Linked DNA regions of Homo sapiens: regions 2 and 3 are each linked to region 1. The links are contacts of gene promoters, found by promoter capture Hi-C in blood cells and fetal thymus (Javierre and others, 2016). All regions are on one chromosome and are shown on one strand. Each heading gives the region's core, a stretch centred on a gene start or on the middle of the fragment in contact. The rest is flanking DNA. Distances are from core to core; before and after follow the strand shown. Region 1 holds the start of RPL22 (ribosomal protein L22). Region 2 overlaps NPHP4 (nephrocystin 4). Region 3 overlaps ACOT7 (acyl-CoA thioesterase 7).

What was found. Contacts are between HindIII fragments. The CHiCAGO score rates a contact against its expected background, and 5 or more counts as called.
Region 2: a contact is called between a fragment that was not itself captured here and the fragment with the promoter of RPL22 in region 1, in 2 of 17 cell types (fetal thymus and monocytes). The highest score is 6.5, in fetal thymus.
Region 3: a fragment that was not itself captured here is called in contact with the fragment with the promoter of RPL22 in region 1 in 1 of 17 cell types (erythroblasts); the score reaches 5.0 in erythroblasts.

What each region holds. Positions count from the first base shown.
Region 1 is chr1:6,198,175-6,201,160 of GRCh38, forward strand. It overlaps RPL22 (ribosomal protein L22), which reads right to left and starts at 1,421. Exons shown (of 4, transcript NM_000983.4): 1 at 1,388-1,421. The coding sequence starts at 1,399. RefSeq lists a silencer at 1,173-1,312. The HindIII fragment of the contact is 15,793 bases long and covers 301-2,986 here.
Region 2 is chr1:5,978,464-5,981,449 of GRCh38, forward strand. The region is part of intron 2 of NPHP4 (nephrocystin 4); the gene reads right to left. Among named protein-coding and RNA genes, the nearest start is that of NPHP4, 12 kb to the right of the region's middle. The HindIII fragment of the contact is 2,298 bases long and covers 340-2,637 here.
Region 3 is chr1:6,355,922-6,358,907 of GRCh38, forward strand. The region is part of intron 1 of ACOT7 (acyl-CoA thioesterase 7); the gene reads right to left. Among named protein-coding and RNA genes, the nearest start is that of ACOT7, 36 kb to the right of the region's middle. RefSeq lists enhancers at 1,179-2,146, 2,847-2,986. The HindIII fragment of the contact is 6,351 bases long and covers 1-2,986 here.

The DNA.
Region 1 (2,986 bases), core at 171-2,670:
CCCACAATTTTCATATGAAATCAATCCTTGTCCTACATGTTCAGAGTAGGGTCCTGATCCGTCTTAGCTCATCTCCCTTAATCCTGTCTCATCCACCTTCTCATGAAGGGAGTTGCAAAGTATTCTAGGTGCCTGTCCACTCCAGCTTGGACAAGGTTAAGGCTAAAACCTAGAATCTTATTACAACACTACCGTCAAGAACTTCTGACATTTTGATTCGCTTCATCTATGCATTAGTACTTCCAAACCACCCGGCAAAGCACATCCTACAAGGTTCCAGTTTCTTCACTCTTACGAAGAAGCTTGTGTTAATCTTATCTCTCTACAAACTTGACACCATTAATGCACTTGTGCATCGTACCAACCTGTACTTTCACGTTTAAAAGCTCTGCAGAACTAAATAGACTTTTCCAAAAACACATCTTACCTCCCTTCATGTTTAAAAGAACTTCATCTAAAACTTGTGTTAACTGGATCAACTTTTCAAACATTTGGCCACTACAAAAATCACTGATTTATTTTTTACAACGTCTCTTCGCAGTAATAATCTAAGAGGGGTACTTTAAGATCTATTCCGAACACACACAATCAATCAAGAGACCTACCCACAACGGGCTTGATACTTCTCCATCAAGGTTTTAAACCAAAAGGCATTCAAAAGCCCAACCAGACAGAAAGAGCAGAAGAACCGGAAATGTTAACCAGGGAGTCCCAACAAAAGAGGAAAAGTAGGATCTTGGGACGAAGAACACGGAAAAACAACTTTCTCAAATAACCTAGGAGGAGGGCGCCGCACAGCCCAGTCCCAGCATAGCTAAAGGAGAATGCAATGAGAGCCTTCTCCCTACACCACTGCAACACCCGTTTGGGTCTGTACAGTGCGCCCTGATAAACTAATTTCCTCTGGGGACGCTAAAAAGCTCCTCAAACCCAGGCCTCCTCTCCGAAAGCACGCCGACCAAGCCGCCCTTCCGCGGATTCGTCCCCGAGTCTTGGCCGTGGACTTCCGAATGCGCGGCTCCCCAGGGTAGCAGGTCCCGTTCTTCTTCCCCGCCCTCCACCCAGGTAATCAGGCCCCCGGCCGGGGTCCGAGGACCAGTGGCCGGCCCAGACCGCAGTCTCCAGGCTCCAGCTCCCCGCTAGCCCCTAGCTGGGGCCCCGGGCCTCCGAGACCTCCCGGATCTCCCTCACGAGCCTCGGGCCGCGGCCTCCTCCGCCTACAACGTGCTGGGATCGGCAGGGGCTCTGGCCCGCTCCGGCCGACCTGCCAGCCCACCCCAGCAGGACGCTGCAGGGCGCCGTCCCCAGCGAGCCTGGGTAGATGCCGGGCTCGGCGAGGCCCACGTGCCTCCCCTGGAGCCGAGGCCTCACGCGGAGCCATACTAACCACAGGAGCCATGGCGGCAGCGGAGTTAGAAAGGGAGGTGAGCGAACTACGCAGACGCAAAGAGCCCGCAGCGCGCAAGGCACGCAGGGTCCAGGCCGCACTAATCACTTTGCCACGCCCCTCGTCCGCCACCTTTTCTCTTGGTTATGTACGATAGGGGAGCGATTGGTTTTTCCTGAATGCAAAACGCGTCCTCTCCCAGGCCTGGAGGGTTTCTGGGGAAGGAAGGAGGCCCGGCGGGCTGTCCCACTGCGAACGATCGGAGGGGGGAAGCCAGACTGGACGAGCCCAAAGATAAATAAAGGGGTTGGCTTTACTTTTTGAAAGTCTTGGGAAGAAAAAAGAAATAAGGAAATTCACTATACTGTAAATTACCAGCTAGTGGGATGGAAATCGAATCTACTAATTTGGGGAAGTGGGAAAATTCCTTGTAGCCACCGGGAAATTTCGTTCAGAGGTCCCAATGCCAGACCACTATGGCTTCCTCAAAAAGCCCCAGCTTGGAAGCTCATGCCCAGGGGCTGTCTCCCAGTGCCTGTCCTTTTTGCTGTAGCCAGGCCGCCCCCTCGCTGATCACCACTCCCTAGTTTCCCAGCCCAAGCCTTCTAGTTTCCCATCCCAAACCAGTAAGTAGTTGAGGACCACCAGGAGATCTGGAAAATGCAGATTCCAATTCCAGCGGTCTCAGTGGCCTGAAATTCTGCATTTCTCACAAGCTCTCAGACGATGCTGATGCTGCGAGTCCATGGACCGCATGTGGAGAAGCAAAGGTCCTCATCCCCAGGCCCACAGGTCCCTTGAACTGGGCTACTTTGCACCCAGTCACCCGCTGCGTCCTCACGGAATTATATTCCAGGATCCTGAATTGTAAATCACTCAGTGGCACACACACTCTCCACTCCCTTTACCTGGCTTCAGTGTACTCACCTAGCAAAAGTCCAATCACCAGAAGAGACTGTGCTGATGGGTCTAGCTTTCAACTCAGGCCTCAAGCCGGTTGACCAAGCTCCAAAGCCAGCTGCTGTTCTTGGCTCTATAATGATCAGGCTGGGCCTCTGCAAACACTTCTGCTTTCCAGCTGATCCCGGTTTGGCTCTATCAATAGGGGGCTTTGCTTCCTGCTTGCTCCTGTCCTGTCTGGTGTCATCCACTCTTGCTTCTTTATCCTGGAGGTGGCAGTTGGAACATTCTGGAAGCAGCAGTGGAATCCAGTCTGCACTTATTCCAACATTTGCAGAACCAGCCTCGTTTTCTCCTCAGAGACACCAGCCCTAGCAGAGCAGCACCCTCTCCTCAGATGTCTGAGTTTCACCTCCCTGTGCCCCTCCTCAAGCATCTACATTTTAATAATACCACCTACCAGTGGTAGCTACTTCCTGCAGTTGCTACTGTTAGTATTATACCCCGACAGTTACCTAAACACATCTTTATACCTAGTTAACAATCCTTTATATTAAATTCTCTCAGTTAAAAACTATAATGTGTTGTCTTTTGACTGGACCCTGGCTGATAACGGACCCTAAGCGAGCCCTCAGGGCTACTGACAATCCTAAATCTCTCCCCCAAGGGACTATTTCCCTTTCTTGTTGTTTTTAATAG
Region 2 (2,986 bases), core at 239-2,738, 220 kb before region 1:
GGAGGTCACTGGCAGGCCATGTGGGTGCATATGGGGCCACCTCGCTCAGATATCAGCACGCTGGTTTCCTTATTGGGAGGCTACCTCTCTCCCACAGCTACTGGTCTTGGTGGGGTTATAAACCAAAGCATTTGGCCCTCCCCTGGCCAACGAAAGACTGCAGTCCCTTGGAACAGACACAGGCTTCTGACTCAGCCAGAGCCCAGGACGCACAAGAGGACATGACCACAGGAGACACATGCGCCTGCCAGGATGAGGCCCAGGGCTCCCAGCAGCCAACAGGTGAGAGAGAACAAGTCCAGGGGACATCACCTGAGACCTCGCTCAAGCCACACCTGAAGCTTATGCTGGCTGTGGATTTGCTGTGAGTCAACAAATCGCCTCTCACGTAAATCATTTTGGATGGGTTTGTTAATCATTTCCAACCAAATGAGCCCTTCCTGATATAACCAGAAACTAAATCCTCAACTTCCCAGATTTTGGGGTGACATTGGCAAAGCAAAAAGCAGATCTTTGAGAATTGAGAAATCATGGCTACAAATACAGAACAAAGCAGCCAGAGTGTAGACAGGCAGGACCCTGCCCAGAGCGGCAGCCAGAGTGTAGACAGGCAGGACCCTGCCCCGGAGCTTTACCACTTACAGCAAGTATTGCTTTAGCCTTTTCTCTTCTGTGACAGGTTCTTACCTGAGACAAGAGTCCTCCACCTTTCTTTCACCTATTCACTTAGTAAACGTTACTTACACATCTATTCTGCGCATTGACTCTCTGCCAGGCACATTTCCAGGCACTAGGGAAACAACAAGGAACAGACAAAATCTCTGCCCTTACAGGGCTTACATGGTGAAGAACGGGGAGAGAGGTGGGTGGGGCGGGGCAGGGCAGGGCAGGGCAGGCTCTCTGAGATGATCCTTGAGCTGAGAACAAGGGGGGCATGAGAAGAACCACAGGGAGTTTGGGGAGAGGGAGCCAGGCAGGAGGAGCAGCAAACTCAAAGGTCCTGAGAGGAAGAGAGCACACGTGCTCCAGGAGCCAGCGAGAAGTGCAGGAACTATATTTAGCTATAGTACCTGTGTTTTGTTTTTGTTTTTAAGAAAAGGGTCTCGTCTGTCACCCAGGCTGGAGGTCTGGCCACTGCAGCCTCCACCTCCCAGGCTCAAGCAATCCTCCTGCCTCATCCTGTCAAGTAGCTGGGACCACAGGTGCACTCCACCACACCCGGCTAATTTTTGTACTTTTTGTAGAGAGTGGGTTTTGCCAGGCTGGTCTTGATCTCCTGTCCTCAAGTGACCCGCCCGTCTCGGCCTCCCAAAGTGCTGGGGTTACAGGGGTAAGCCACCATGCCCGGCCTGTATTTTCTAATTTTCTGTATTACTGATGCTCTGGCATCTGGGGCCTCAGTGACGAGATAAGACTGTCCCCCAGAGCCGGTTAATTCCTAGGGTGGCAAATGGCAGGCCTATCAGAATGTGTCTGACATGAAAACCAACCCGTCCAGAGACCACATGCCCCACTACCTCTGTCTGGCTCACACACCCCAGGAGTCCCACCCTCTGCCATGGTCTCTCAGGGTCAGTGACCAGACACCTCGGGCCATCCCTGCACCTCAGAGACCACGACATGACTCTCCTTGGCCAACGCAAGCCCGTCCAGCTGCCCACCCTCCCTGGCCCAGTCCTCCCACAAAACCATAATCAAGTCTCTGCCCATGCCTCCCTTCCACCCTCCTGCCTCCTGACCAACCCTGCGCTTCCCCAGGTGGCCTGTGGGACATGGCCTACCCCTCGTCTTGGGAGCCCTGAGTAACAGACAGGGTCTCAGCTGAGTTGTCTCCTGATCCGCTGGCCTCACCACCCCTAAATGGAAACCAGTCCCAGGTACATTCTAAGCAGAAAGCCCACCGGACTGCAGCAGGCTGGGCCAGGGAGGAGAGAAGGAATGAGCGCCAGGCGCAAGAGCGTTCAGGCAGGCCTCACGGCGCGAGGAGAAGCTGGGTTCTCACTCCAATCATGCAGGGAGGCCAGGGAGAGATTCTAAGCAGAAATGACACAATCTGGTTCGGGATTTAAGAAAATTCCCGCAGCTGCCATGTGGGGGCGGGAGTGGAAGCAGGGGCCAATTAGGAGGAGGCGAGACAGGGAGGGGCAGGGAGGGTGACAGGAAGCAGGCACCGCTGGGCTCTGCTGCTTTGCAGGAGTGGCTGCGTGGTCATGAAGGGAGAAAAGTGGGAAGGGCCAGCTGCCTAGGTCGGCCCAGCCCTCCCAGGCCCAGTACTGAATCTCGCATCTCAAGTGAAGCAACGTGGAGGGAGGTGGTGTTATCCATGAGGACAGGGAAGGTGGGCAGAGCAGGTCTGAAGACTCCAAGCCCAGCTCCCATCACCACGCACCGGGGCCTGGCCCCCAGCTCCCATTACCACGCTACCTCCCTGTCCTCCTCCCTCTTCCCCTCAGTCTCTCTTCCTCCTCAGCTCCTCCCGCATCCAGACCTGCCCTCTGAGCCTGCCTCATCTCTCCCCAGAGCAACCCCCTGGCTTTTCCATGTTGACTGTCTGCTGCCCCCATCTACAACGTGAGCTCTCTGAGGACACAAGCCTGAAATAGTCTGTTCCCTGCTCTGTCCCTGGGGCCTAGGCAAAGCTTCTGCACGTGCCCCTCCTCACCCGGGACTGCCTGGGTTCCCCCAGCACCGCCACCTCCTCCTCCTCCTCTCCTGCACTCTCAGGAGGCCATTCTCAGGCAGGATCCCGTGGCTCCCAGAACCGTCGCTGGCTTGGGCTTCTTTCCAGAATGCCAGATCCTAACCACCCTCCCACCACCTCTATGCTACTTCACATCCAGTCTATTCAAATAAGAATCCACTGAGAGCTTCCTGAAGACACAGTATAGGGCAGAGTCAACTCTGTGTCATCTGCACGGTTCCTAACATATCGTGGTGCCCAATACATATCAAGCTGAACTGAAATACTCATCCCAAAATAAAGAAA
Region 3 (2,986 bases), core at 284-2,783, 160 kb after region 1:
CATGCCTCCTGTGCCCTGGGGTCCTCTCAAGGTGGAGTCCCACCTAAGCCACATGGAGCCTGAGTACTGGGTTGAATTGTGTCCCCCAAAAGATGTGTTTGAGAACGAACCCCCAGAAACTATGAATGTCACCTTACTTGAAAAGAGTTCTTTGCATCCAGATACAATCAAGATGAGGTCGCCGTGCCTTAGGAAGGGCCCTAACCCAATGACTGGTGTCCTTATAGGAACAGGGAAGTCTCGACATGAGACACAGGAGGTCCAGGTGAAGATGAAGGCAGAGACGGGAGCAGCCTCCCGTCAAACCTTCGGGAGCATGGCCCTGCCCACCGCTGGTCTCCAGCCTGAGGAAACTGCTTCCGGTTGTCACCTGCCACCTGGTTTGTGGCCATGCCCGGAGGTCTCTGATGCTCCCAAAGAAAGCAGCACTGAGTGGCACAGGGGAGCCCCGAGGCAGCAGCGGCAGCACCCTCAGCACCCTCAGCCCTGCCCAGCACCCTCAGCCCAGCTCAGCACCCTCAGCCCCGCTCAGCACCCTCAGCCCAGCTCAGCACCTGCCACCCACACCTGGCCAGCCCTGGACAGGCCCCTGTGCGGTGACCTTGGCAGCAGCCCTGCAGGGCACTGAACCCTGCCTGCCCCTTCCACAGCCCAGCACACGACCAGCTGGGAGTGTCACCAGTGTCTCTGACTCTGACACAAAAATGTCAGTGCTGGCCAAGCGCAGTGGCTCACACCTGTAATCCCAGCACTTTGGGAGGCCGAGGCGGGCGGATCATGAGGTCAGGAGTTTGAGACCAGGCTGGCCAACATGGTGAAACCCCGTCTCTATTAAAAATAGAAAAAAAATAGCTGGGCGTGGTGGCAGGCTCCTATAATCCCAGCTACTTGGGAGGCTGAGGCAGGAGAATTGTTTGAACCCAGGAGGCGGAGGTTGCAGTGAGCCAAGATCATGCCATTGCACTCCAGCCTGGGCCACAGGGTGAGACTGTGTCTCAAAAAAAAAAAAAAGGACGACGACGACTACACTTTTGTGGCTGGACGCAGTGGCTCACGCCTGTAATCCCAGCACTTTAGGAGCTGAGGCAGGTGGATCACCTGAGGTCAGGAGTTTGAGACCAACCTGACCAACATGGAGAAACCCTGTCTCTACTAAAAATACAAAATTAGCCAACCATGGTGGCACATGCCTGTAATCCCAGCTACCTGGGAGGCTGAGGCAGGAGAATCGCTTAAACCCAAGAAGCGAAGTTTGTGGTGAGCCAAGATCGCGCCATTGCACTCCAGCCTGGGCAACAAGAGCGAAACTCCGCCTCAAAAAAAAAAAAAGTCAGTGCTAAAATGAAAACATTACTACGTGAAACCCAGGGTAACCAGGGGTAGGTGAGCCTTGCTTCCTTTACTCCATGGTGGAAGCTAAAGTGCCCACCTGAAGGTGCACAGCCAGGTAAGGGTCTGGGGTATAGGCAGGTCAGGCCCACACGGGGCCTGCAGGGCAGGCGGCTCATTACTGCCCCCTTCTGACAAAGGCCTCAAACCAGAGGTCAAGCACCAGGTGCGTGTGCTCCACCCTCACCTCAGCTGGAAAGCTGGGTGGGACAGAGGTGTCTGGGCAGACTGTCCCCAGTCATAGGGCTGCAGATGCCACTCATGGCTGGGGGCCACCACCTGGGGCCTGCAGACACTCGGAGCTTCCTTCAGGAGCTCAGCAGAGGCTGCCTTGGCCAGGAGTAGACAAGGGACAGGGGTTGCCCTTCCCGGAAGGAAAGGAGAAGCGGGTCTCCTTATGGCATGGGGGGCGGGGGCCTCACACCAGGCAGCCTTGAGGGACAAAACAGGCACGTGGATGGGTGTGGGGCCTCAAAGTCCAGGCACAAGCACACATAAATGCCTCCTCTTTCCATGGGGGACTCTGCCAAACAGAAGCTCAAGCAGCCCTGCTTCTCCTCTTTTTTTTTTTTTTGAGAGGGAGTCTCGCTCTGTCACCCAGGCTGGAATGCAGTGGCGTGATCTTGGCTCTCTGCAACCTCCACCTCCCGGGTTCAAGTGATTCTCCTACCTCAGCCTCCCAAGTAGCTGGGATTACAGGTGCGTGCCACCATGCCTGGCTAATTTTTGTATTTTTTAGTAGAGACGGGGGTTTCACCATGTTGGCCAGGCTGGTCTCAAACTCCTGACCTCAGTTGATCCACCTGCCTCGGCCTCCCAAAGTGCTGAGATTACAGGCGTGAGTCACAGAGTCTGGCCCCTGCTTCTCCTCTTTGACTTGCTGCCTAAGGCAGTTCCGGCGAAGTCCCTTCAACCCACAGACACGCCACTGCATCTCCAGAAGAGGGAAGGGTGGGAGGAAGGGCTGTGCCAAGGAAAGTTCCAGCAGCACTTGCAGGCCCCCAAGCAGGACGGGGGAAGAGGCCAACAATGGCCCTGAGCTCCCAGCCTCCATTTTGGCCAGGGGCAGGGGACTGACCCAGGAGGCTCCTTGTGCAGCCCACAGACCCCCCCTCCACCGCAGGTAGGAAGCTCAGCAGCGCTGGGAAACCGCAGTGAACCCAGCCCAGCTGAAGGGAGCAGAGGGAAGCCACAGGAGCAAGGCTGGAAAGAAAACCAGGTGCCTTCCTCCCTGGGGACTAGAGCAGGCAGGGGAGTGCCCTGGTCCGTCAGGGGACCCCAGCTCACGCAGGCCTGCACTTCCTATCCCAGCTTCGGCTGACCACCTAATCTTGGGGGTCAGTAAGAGCCAGGCCAGGTGGGTGCCCTACTGCCCTTCCTGGCTGCATGACACCAGCCAGCCTGCTGGGCACAGGGGCCGAGTCCCCTCTACCCACCCTTCCCTTCCAAATGTCCCTAAACAATCCACCCACAGTGGCCCCTGCACGGCCTAGACATGCCCATGACTGGCAGTACCTGCTCAGCTGGAAAGCCATGGTGGCTAGGACATCCCAGGATCAGATGCAGAGAAAGGCGAGGGAGCAGGGAAGCATCACAG